Regions from separate parts of the Homo sapiens genome. Here region 2 is linked to region 1. Evidence: promoter capture Hi-C in human tissues and cell types (Jung and others, 2019). All regions are on one chromosome and are shown on one strand. The core of a region is centred on a gene start or on the middle of the fragment in contact, and the rest is flanking DNA. Distances in the headings are between cores, read along the strand shown. Region 1 holds the start of LOXL4 (lysyl oxidase like 4). Region 2 has its middle 42 kb from the start of LOXL4.

What was found. Contacts are between HindIII fragments. The study calls those that stand out against the background at their distance.
Region 2: a contact is called between a fragment that was not itself captured here and the fragment with the promoter of LOXL4 in region 1, in 9 of the 25 tissues and cell types used here (H1 embryonic stem cells, adrenal gland, aorta and 6 more).

The regions. Positions count from the first base shown.
Region 1 is chr10:98,265,735-98,270,125 of GRCh38, reverse strand. LOXL4 (lysyl oxidase like 4) reads left to right here and starts at 1,932. Exons shown (of 15, transcript NM_032211.7): 1 at 1,932-1,994. It overlaps LOC124902489 (a long non-coding RNA gene), which reads right to left and starts at 1,684. Exons shown (of 2, transcript XR_007062260.1): 1 at 1-1,684. RefSeq lists enhancers at 1,985-2,484, 2,485-2,986. The HindIII fragment of the contact is 18,964 bases long and covers 1-4,391 here.
Region 2 is chr10:98,308,030-98,312,420 of GRCh38, reverse strand. No RefSeq gene overlaps it. Among named protein-coding and RNA genes, the nearest start is that of LOXL4, 42 kb to the right of the region's middle. The HindIII fragment of the contact is 9,107 bases long and covers 1-4,391 here.

The DNA.
Region 1 (4,391 bases), core at 683-3,182:
ACATAGCCAGGCAGGAGGGAAGAAGAGGGCTTTCTCAATCAAATGAAAGCTGATTGAGATGAATCCAGTGGTCCCATCTGACCCCTACAGCAATCACATTTAAGGATGAGGAGATGACAACTCAGCCGAGAAAATCCCACTGTTAGTACGCCATGGGCTGGGGCTGGGACCAGAGCCCCTCACTTCTCAGGGTTGGGGGCTCACAGCGCATGCCTTAGAGATCCCCACTTCCACTGCTTCCCAGCCTTGGCCTCTGCCCAGAGTTGTGCAAATTAAAGGACTTCCGGGCAACATCCATTCATTCCCTGGTCTCTATCCTCCGCCCGCCCCTGCGCTCCAGGGTATTTTTAGTTCTGGGCAGCCAGGCCTGGTGAGTGATTGGCAGCAGGCAGAGCCCACGTTTCCGAACCCTCTGTGTTGCTTCTGGCTCAGCATGAGAGGTGGCTGGGCCCTAGGAGAGGGCTTAGGCATACCTGGCACCCAAGCCCACAGCTGCCTCATTGTCCCTGGGGGAGGAGCTGGGCTGCTGCCACTGACCCGAGGCTGGGAGCATTCTTTCCTGCTGATTCATCATGGGGAATGTTTTGGGCCCAGCTGGGGTGGGGCAGGGGCACTGGGGGGACATCTTGGACACGGGCAGCCAGGAGTGGATGGCAGGTCCCTGGCAGCAGGGTCATTAAGACCTGGCTGTCACCCAGGATCGAAAAGGTCCATCTTGACATCCTAGCTCTATCACACTCTGCCTGTCCAGGCTTATTCTTACTTGCACATCTGCCTCCCCCACCAGACTGGGAAGGCCCCCTCCAGCGTCTAGCACTCCAGCACCCTGTCTAGCATGTAGGAGAAAATCAATAAAGGCTTGTGGGATGAATGAACCTTTGGAAGGACGTTTAGGCAAGGTGGGGGCAAGAGGGGGAACCAGGTTGGGCAGCTGTGGGCCTAGGGAGGAAACCGGGAGGCTGGAACCCTCTGCCCATTTTACAGATGGGGCCAGTGAGGCTAAGGGCAGGACCAGGTCTAGGGGAAAGAAACTGGGGGCTTGGACTGGGGTTCAGGCACCTAGGTGCTCAGTTCAGCTGATGGGACTCCTCTCTGTCAGCCATGTCCACATTTCTTTAATTCTACAGTCCCTGCTCCCTGCACTAACACCCTCCTCCCGTGAGTCTGACAAGGGCCAGGACTGCATCATTCAGCTCTGTGAAGGGGTTCTCCCATTCACTGTGTATTGCCTGGAGGAGCAAGTTATGTCGCCTGGGGCTCAGTGTTCCCAGCTGCACAATGGGCAGCGCAGAGTTTCACACGGAGGGCGGGGGGGGGGGGGGGGGCGGTATTCAGTAAACTCTGGGTGACTCGCCTGTTCCTGCAGGAGAGCACCGCTGCACCGCGCCACCTCGACCTCTCTGAACTGAGCCCCGGCCTCCCAGAAAGGGCGTCTACATTGTCCTAAGTGACCGAGCTCGTGAGATTCGGCCCCTGTGACAGCCGGGCGCTCCCGTGCGAAGGGTGCTGTGCCGGGGGCCCTGGCACCCACCAGGACTCACAGACTGGGACTCTAGGTGGGCGTCATTACCTTGTTCTGCAAAAGAGGAAACTGCCTGGGAGAGGGACTCCCGAGGCCGCCGCGGCCCTCCCTGCAAAACAGCCGCGGGCCCAGCGCCGCCCTTTCCCGAGAGCTCCGCTCCCCGCGACCCCCCGCCGCCCCCCCGCTCCCCCCGCCCCCCGGGACTTCCCGGCCCCGCCGGCTGCGGCTGGGCGCCCCCGCCACCTGGCCTGTGTCCCGACGGGGGGCGCCGCGCGGAAGGCCGGGCGGGGCGCCCGCGGACTCCAGGCCCGCCCGGGGCGGGGCCTGCGGGGCCTCCTCCGCGGCCAGCTCGGGGCTGGGGGGCCGCGGGCGGGAGGCGGATAAAAAGGCCCCAGGGCGCCCGGGGAGGGAGCCCGTTAGCGCTGCTCCGCCGCGGCGCCCGCCCAGCCCCGGACTGTCCGCGCTCCATCTGGTGAGCCCCCGCCTGGCCGCGCGTCTGCCTCTTGGTCTGCCTCTTGCTGTCCCATCTGTCCTTCTGTCTCTCTGTGAGTCTGCAGGCCTCTGAGGGTTCCTGGAGACTGGGCCTAGGGTGCATGGGGGATCCCTTGGACCCTCAGCCCGGCCCTCCAGTCGCTCACCAACCTGCTTCCAACTGGACAAGTGACCACGCTGGGGAGCTTGGCCCAAGGCCCGCCCTGAGTGGTGCGCCCAGGCCTCAGGGGTGCCTGCGTGTCTTGTTTGTGTACACGCCGTGTGTAACCATTGCTCTGCCTTCTTCCAGGGAGGAGACAGGGAAGGGGCAAGGCGGGTTCAGATGTCACACTTACGACTTGGGGGACAACGAACCAGGGCTGATCTGGGCTCTCCAACTATCCAGACCGGAGCTGATTATGTTGGGGGGTCGGCGTGTGACAGAAACACCGAAGGGAAGGGGGCAGAAGACTTCAAGCCCCCTCTTTCCTAGCCTGGACAGGTACAGCTCAGAGACCATTTGTTGGCACTGCTTCAGGTCCACAGAGTCAGTAACCCCGGGGAGGCTACAGGGCTGAGAGGAGGCTGCTGAGAAGAGCTGCCCAACGGCAGAGAAGGGATGAGCCATCCTAAAGTTGCTGCACCCTCAGGACAGCACCCCCCATGCTCTCTCTTGAATACTCGGGCATTTGCTGTCTTCAGCCCTCCCTACCTGCGCTAGGTCAGGCCAGGTCCCAGCATCTCCTGGCACACCTGGAGCAGGTGCCTCTGTGCCTCAAGCTGGCAAGATCTTGGATCTGTCACTCGGCATTCAGCGAAGAGCACCCTGCCCAGTGCCCTCACACCACGGCCTGGGTCATAAATCCACCAGAACAGGGTGGAATTTCAGTCGGCTCCCGGCCTTCCTTTCCTCCTCCCCCTCTTCCAACATCCATTCTTGGTGGTTTTGAGAGTCCGGCGTCTAGCCAGGCTGCTTGGGTTTGAATCCTGGCTGGGCAAGTTACTTGACTTCCCTGGACCTTACCTTCTCATCTGTAAAATGGAGATAAGTATTTAATCCGTATTTTAAAATGTATAGTTATTATCCTCACTTCCCTCCCCTCCTCTTTCCCTTCCACCTTCCTTCCCTCTTCTGTCCCCTTCTCCTTTATTTGGGAAAGTAACGGCCACTTTCGAGGCCGCTTCCTTCTCTGAGGGAGGATGCACAGCTTGGTCCTCTGTGCTCAGTGCTAGGGGAACAGACAGGTGGAGTCTGGTTGTGGGGTCAGGAAGCAAACACACAATGTGCTTTGTGGAAGGCTTTGTGGGAGGGCTTAATGGAGGGGGTGGCATTTGAGCTGGCCTTGTGGGATGTGTAGGAGTTTAACAGTCTTAGATAGAGGGAAAGGAACAGTGAGAGCAAAGGCTTGGAGGCTGGGAGACGAAGGCTATAGTCTGGTGTGAGCAAAAGCTCTCGGGGGCCTATAGTGGGCAGGAAGGCCAATAAGAGGGACTCTCCCTGCATCTAACTCTTGGTTCCCGCTGCCGTCCCCCCACCTTCCAGCAGCGTTCATGGAAGGGAGCTTCCCTGGCCCAGACCCCAGGGTCCTACAGCAGAAGCCCTCCCATGCCCTCAGGTTGGTCCCTTGGAGAGGAAGGAGCTGCTGGCCTGGGACTGTCCACAGCCTGTAACAAGACCTCCTCAGTGTGTCAGGGACTTCAGCCAGGAGCCAAACAGCAGACCTGCCCAGCCTACCCTGGGCCCCATCAGAGCATGTCGGATAGGGGGGCTGTCTAGTGCCACCCCCTCATTTTACAGGTTTTTCAGCTGAGACTCAGAGAAAGGAAAATATTTGACTCCAGACACAATTTGGCGGCAGAGATAGAAGCATTCCAACTCCTGGGGGTGGTAGAGAAGGTGTGGTTGTCACTCAGCCCAGACCCATGTGACCACTGGGTCCTAATAGCTGAGGGACCTGAGGCCGATCTGTCCCATCCTTTCTTGCCATCTGGGGAGTGGTTTGGCTCAGTCCCTGGCTGTCTACCTCCTACTCCAGGGAGCACGGAGGAGGGAATGGGAAACAATGGAGAGCACTCTGCTCATGGGACAGCCAGCTGGGAGCCCCCACAAGCCTCTGAGTGACATGCAGAAGACAGTGTTTCAGTCTGGAAAGGAAGCGTGGGAGGGGTCAGAGGGGGAGAGCTGCAGAGGTGAGAATGGGAAGGCAGCCCCTGCACAGCCTCAGGGAGTGGAGAGGGGAGCATCTAGGCTCTGCAGTGTGGGTGGAGGGAAAAGGGGCAAATCTAGAGAAGGCTGCAAAGAGGAGTACCAAGGACTTGCAGTTGAGATCGGACGTGGCCTCCATTTCCTTCTTTGTACAGAGAGGAGGTGGGACCAATCTAGACCAACGGTTCTATC
Region 2 (4,391 bases), core at 763-3,262, 42 kb before region 1:
GGCTTAACCTACATCCCATCACCCAGGCACCCATATGCACCAGTTTACCTGGTTTCCACGTGTTGTCCCTATGTATTTATAAACAAAACTCCCTTTTACTCTCAGAAGTGTCCCAGGTTGGATAACTCACACGGTACTCCCTGATTTAGGACATTTTCCTGGAGCCACAACCAAGGAAATGGAATCCCTTACCAATCCCACTCCCCACGTGTAAACGATAAGACACCACACCTGGGCGCCCCTTGGAGACCTGAGAGTCAACTTGCTTGCTTTATAGTTGAATAAACTAAGGCAGAAAGAGGGCTCAGGTGCTGTTCCCGAGTTCACTCTGATGGGGATCTCCAAAAATCAAGTCTCCCAAGTTCTAGGCCGGTGGTGTTTTTCTCCTGTTTCCTGTCCAGTGAGAGATGCAAGGAAGAGGGTCGGGAGCCACACCTAACACTGTGATGCTGATGGAGGCACCAGGAACCCTAGACCCTGCCTTGAGCCAGTCGTTGCCCTATTAGGTTATCAATAAATGAGGGTGTAGGCTGGCTTGCTAAAGCCTCCTTGTGTCAGGCTGGAGTGCAGTAGCACGATCTCAGCTCACTGCAACCTCCGCCTTCTGGGTTCAAGCGATTCTCCTGCCTCAGCCTCCCGAGTAGCTGGGATTACAAGTGCCTGCCACCACGTCTGGCTGATTTTTGTATTTTTAGTAGAGACAGGGTTTCACCATGCTGGCCATGCTGGTCTCGAACTCCTGACCTCAAGTGATCCACCTGCCTTAGCCTCCAAAAGGGCTGGGAAGGGATGAGCCACTGCACCCAGCCAAAAGCCTCTTTGTGTTCTGATTCACTATTCCCCCTTGCTGGGGACTGGCTGGCAGTTTCCTCCTGGGGACATGACTTGAGGGCAGGCGTGGAGGGTCACAGCACAGGAGATGGGCCAAGGGTTATTCCTCCAAGCAGAGCCCAGGGACACATCTCTCTCAGCTAGGTGCCTCACCAGCAGGACATTCAGGTGCAGTGATGGGCACAGACCAGCGAGTGTGCAGTGGAGGATGTGGGAAAGGCTCCAGCAATGAATGCCGAGGCCGAGGCCTGTCCTGAACCCTGGAGGGAGGCCAGCGTGGTCTGTTTCATCTGGTGCTCCTGACAAAACCCTTCCCAGGGCAAGGACTCTCTGAGTCCCCCCAGAGCCTGGCAAGGGAGGTGGTCTTGGCCCTACCCTGACAACAAAAATTATCTTGGAGAACCTCTGCCATTCCCTGGTGTGCTGAGAAATTCTGAACTGGAACGTCTTGTCCATCCAACATAGGCACGTCCCAGTTCCCCCGTGGAGCCACCTTCATATTCAGTTCCACAAGGGAGCGTGCACGGTGTGCGGGGCACCTTGCCAGGCTTTGAAATGAGCAGGACCCAGCCCCTGACTCTCAGGAGTCCTGTTCTAATAGAAGGGTCGAGGCAAACGCATTCTCCAGAGAAGGACAACGCCAGGCAGGGGAGAAAAAAAAATGCCAGCGAGACACTTTTAAAAGAGGGAAAGTCTGCATGTGCAAAACCATTCTTTGAAATGATGCATTTGGTTATGTGCATATTTGTTATGCATTTGGTTATGTGCATATTTGTTAATCTAGCTCCGTGATTTTTAAGTGTCTTAAACCACAGATTTTTTTTCCAAATAAAATCTTTCCTGAAACCCCCAGTGTGTTATAACAAGACAATGAAGCTGGGAGAAAGGTAAATGCAGAGTTCCTGGGGTGAAAGGAGAAGTTGGATGCCATCACCTGGACAGCCCCTAGACTCAGACTGACAGCCACCAGTCTGTATAATGATGAATCATGCAGCTGCTAAATTACTACCATAAGGATTATGGATCAGCAGGAAAAAAACATTGTACAGTGATGAAAAACCAAGAACAAAAGGCCAGGTGCACCATGGCTCCTACTGAGGAATAACAGGTGTGAGTAGTAGGCTTTGTGGCTGGTTTTCTTTTTTTTTCTGAGATGTGGTCTCGCTATTTTGCCCAGGCTGGTCTTGAACTCCTGGGCTCAAGCCATCCTCCCACCTCAGCCTCCCAAAGTACTGGGATTACAGGCGTGAGCCACCATGCCTGGCCTGCTTGGTGGTTGATTTTCACATTAAAAAATTGTATGTCACTGTTAATTGTGTCTCACAGGGAGGAGGGAGTGAGTACCTGTTCCCTGTTAGGGGGAGTGCTGGAGGCTGGAACCAGCATTTCAGATAAAGGGAGGCATCCAGCAGAGATCTGGGAACTGTCACGTCCTGAGGGCTAAATAGAGGCATAGAAGATGAGGAGGGAAATTGGGAGGAAAGAAACTGGGAGGGAACCAGAGCATAGAAGGGCACCCCATCACTCAGCGTCTTTTTGTGATTTCCAGGCAGCAGAGAGCTGTGTTTCTGAGCAGAGGAGTCACTCGTGGAGCTGCCTTTGTTCCTTGTTAGAAAGAGGTTCAAGGGTGGCCCCCAAGTGTGGTCCCTTGGCAAAGGAGCTCTCCCAGTTCCCCTCCCCCCAGGGCAGATTTGATTCTGTCTCTCTCATCCAGGAGCCACGGCCTGGGATGCCCTTGCCAGGGTCATTGCCAAGCCCAGTTTTCCCAGACTGGGCTCGCAGGCCCTGGAGGCCCTGGGAAGCCGCCTAGCAAAGGCTGGTTCAGGGGTGGCCATAAGAGGGCGGAAGAGGGCTGGGAACGGGCGGCCGCAGCTTACGCCTCCATCCCACTCCCTCTTCTTATCCAACCTTGTGTTTCAGATCAGGAAATTGAGAGCCAAACAACCCAAGGTCACATGGCAGATTTACAGAGAGCAGGGATTGGAGCTCAGCCTCCACACTCCGGGTCCGGGACTGCCGCCGTGCTCATCACCCTGCCTCCTTTTCCCTAACACCCTCCCATCTGCACACTCTGAGATGCTCCCTGAAAGCTGAGCTCCCCTCCCGACCATGTGAGAGACCCCACAGGCATGCGCTTGCTCACAATCCATTGCCAATGCCTGCTCCCAAGACTGCAGCTGCCAGTGAGATACGACTTGTGATTTAACGAGCTCAGTCCTTCCCGAGGCTTGATGGGTACTGTCTCACCACTCCCAGGATCTCTTGGCAGCAAAAACCCCTTTCCACACAGGGGCCCTGCTTTAAGCTGCATCCCCACAGACTGTCTTTTCGGGTGCCTCACCCTCACCTCCTGCTTAGACACGGCCACTCCCCAGCAAGGACTGTCAGAGCTGGGGGCCTCTGAGTAGCTCACCTACAGGTTTTCCAACTGAGCCTAGAGGAGATGCCGGGGCGCTGCAGGGAGGGTGAGGTGAGGTATCTGCAGGAGTTGGGGCAAAGAATGACCTTTGCTTCTGCTAGAGAAGCTTAGCTATCCATCTGTTTCATGTTACAGAGTTCCATGTATGCTTTCATTTGAACAAAGGATTCTCACTGTAAAAACATCTCCAAGCCCCTGAAATGAGCTCAAGCCCCCAGCAGGGCCTGCCTCCCCCTGCGCCGCCGGTCTTAACAGTCTATCAGCGAGACAGACCCATCCTCTCTCCCTTGTTGTCACCTTGTGGATATTTATAGCATTACCGTGTCCACCAGAGAGCGTAATGGGCTTTTTAGGCTAAACCAATTAAACTCTCCTCCCGTAAGTCATGTCTCCTGGATGGCTTCTCTGCCCTGCTCTGAGCTTGTTCTATCTTCATTATCTCGGCTCTTCATGGCAGGGGGAGGACACGGCCAGAGAGTTCACACACTGGTTCCTGGGGGATCTCTGCATCTCTTTCCGGCCCTGGCTGCATCTTGCCAACCACCACCTCTCATTCCTCGGGCTGTGTAGACATGATCCAGACCTGGGCAGTGCAGTCAACCCCCTTGTATACTGGGAAGCAGAATATACTCAAGAGGAGGTAGTCGGTCTTTCCCTCCTTTTTTTCTTTGCCCTTCCAAATATCAAGCAATATCAGCAACAATCTACAAATAGCAAGCATCTAAGCCTATGCAAAACCCACTGGGCTGGGCACCACGAGGCTGTCACCTGCAGAGATGGCTGAGTTCCGATGTACCCCCAGGCGCCTACAGTCGGTGGAAGCTGGCGTGGTGAAACATTTCCCAGTGTGCTATTTGTGATCCTCACGGGCTCCTGAAGATATTGCAAGCATCTGCGTGCTTCAAGGCAATGATAGTATGTTTCATTTATTTTCTAAATCAATAATAAAATAGTTACTTTTCTAAATGGAAGGGCGTGAGTGCTCTGAAGGCATGCCAGGAGAGCACACCTTCCCTGGGAGTGGAGATCAATTTGGCTGTGACTCAGTCTCCAGGCCGTTGGCTCAGCACTCAGCCGAACACCACTAACCATCCTGGTGGGTTTCACTATCATGCAGCATTAAATTCTTTTTATGTTTAGT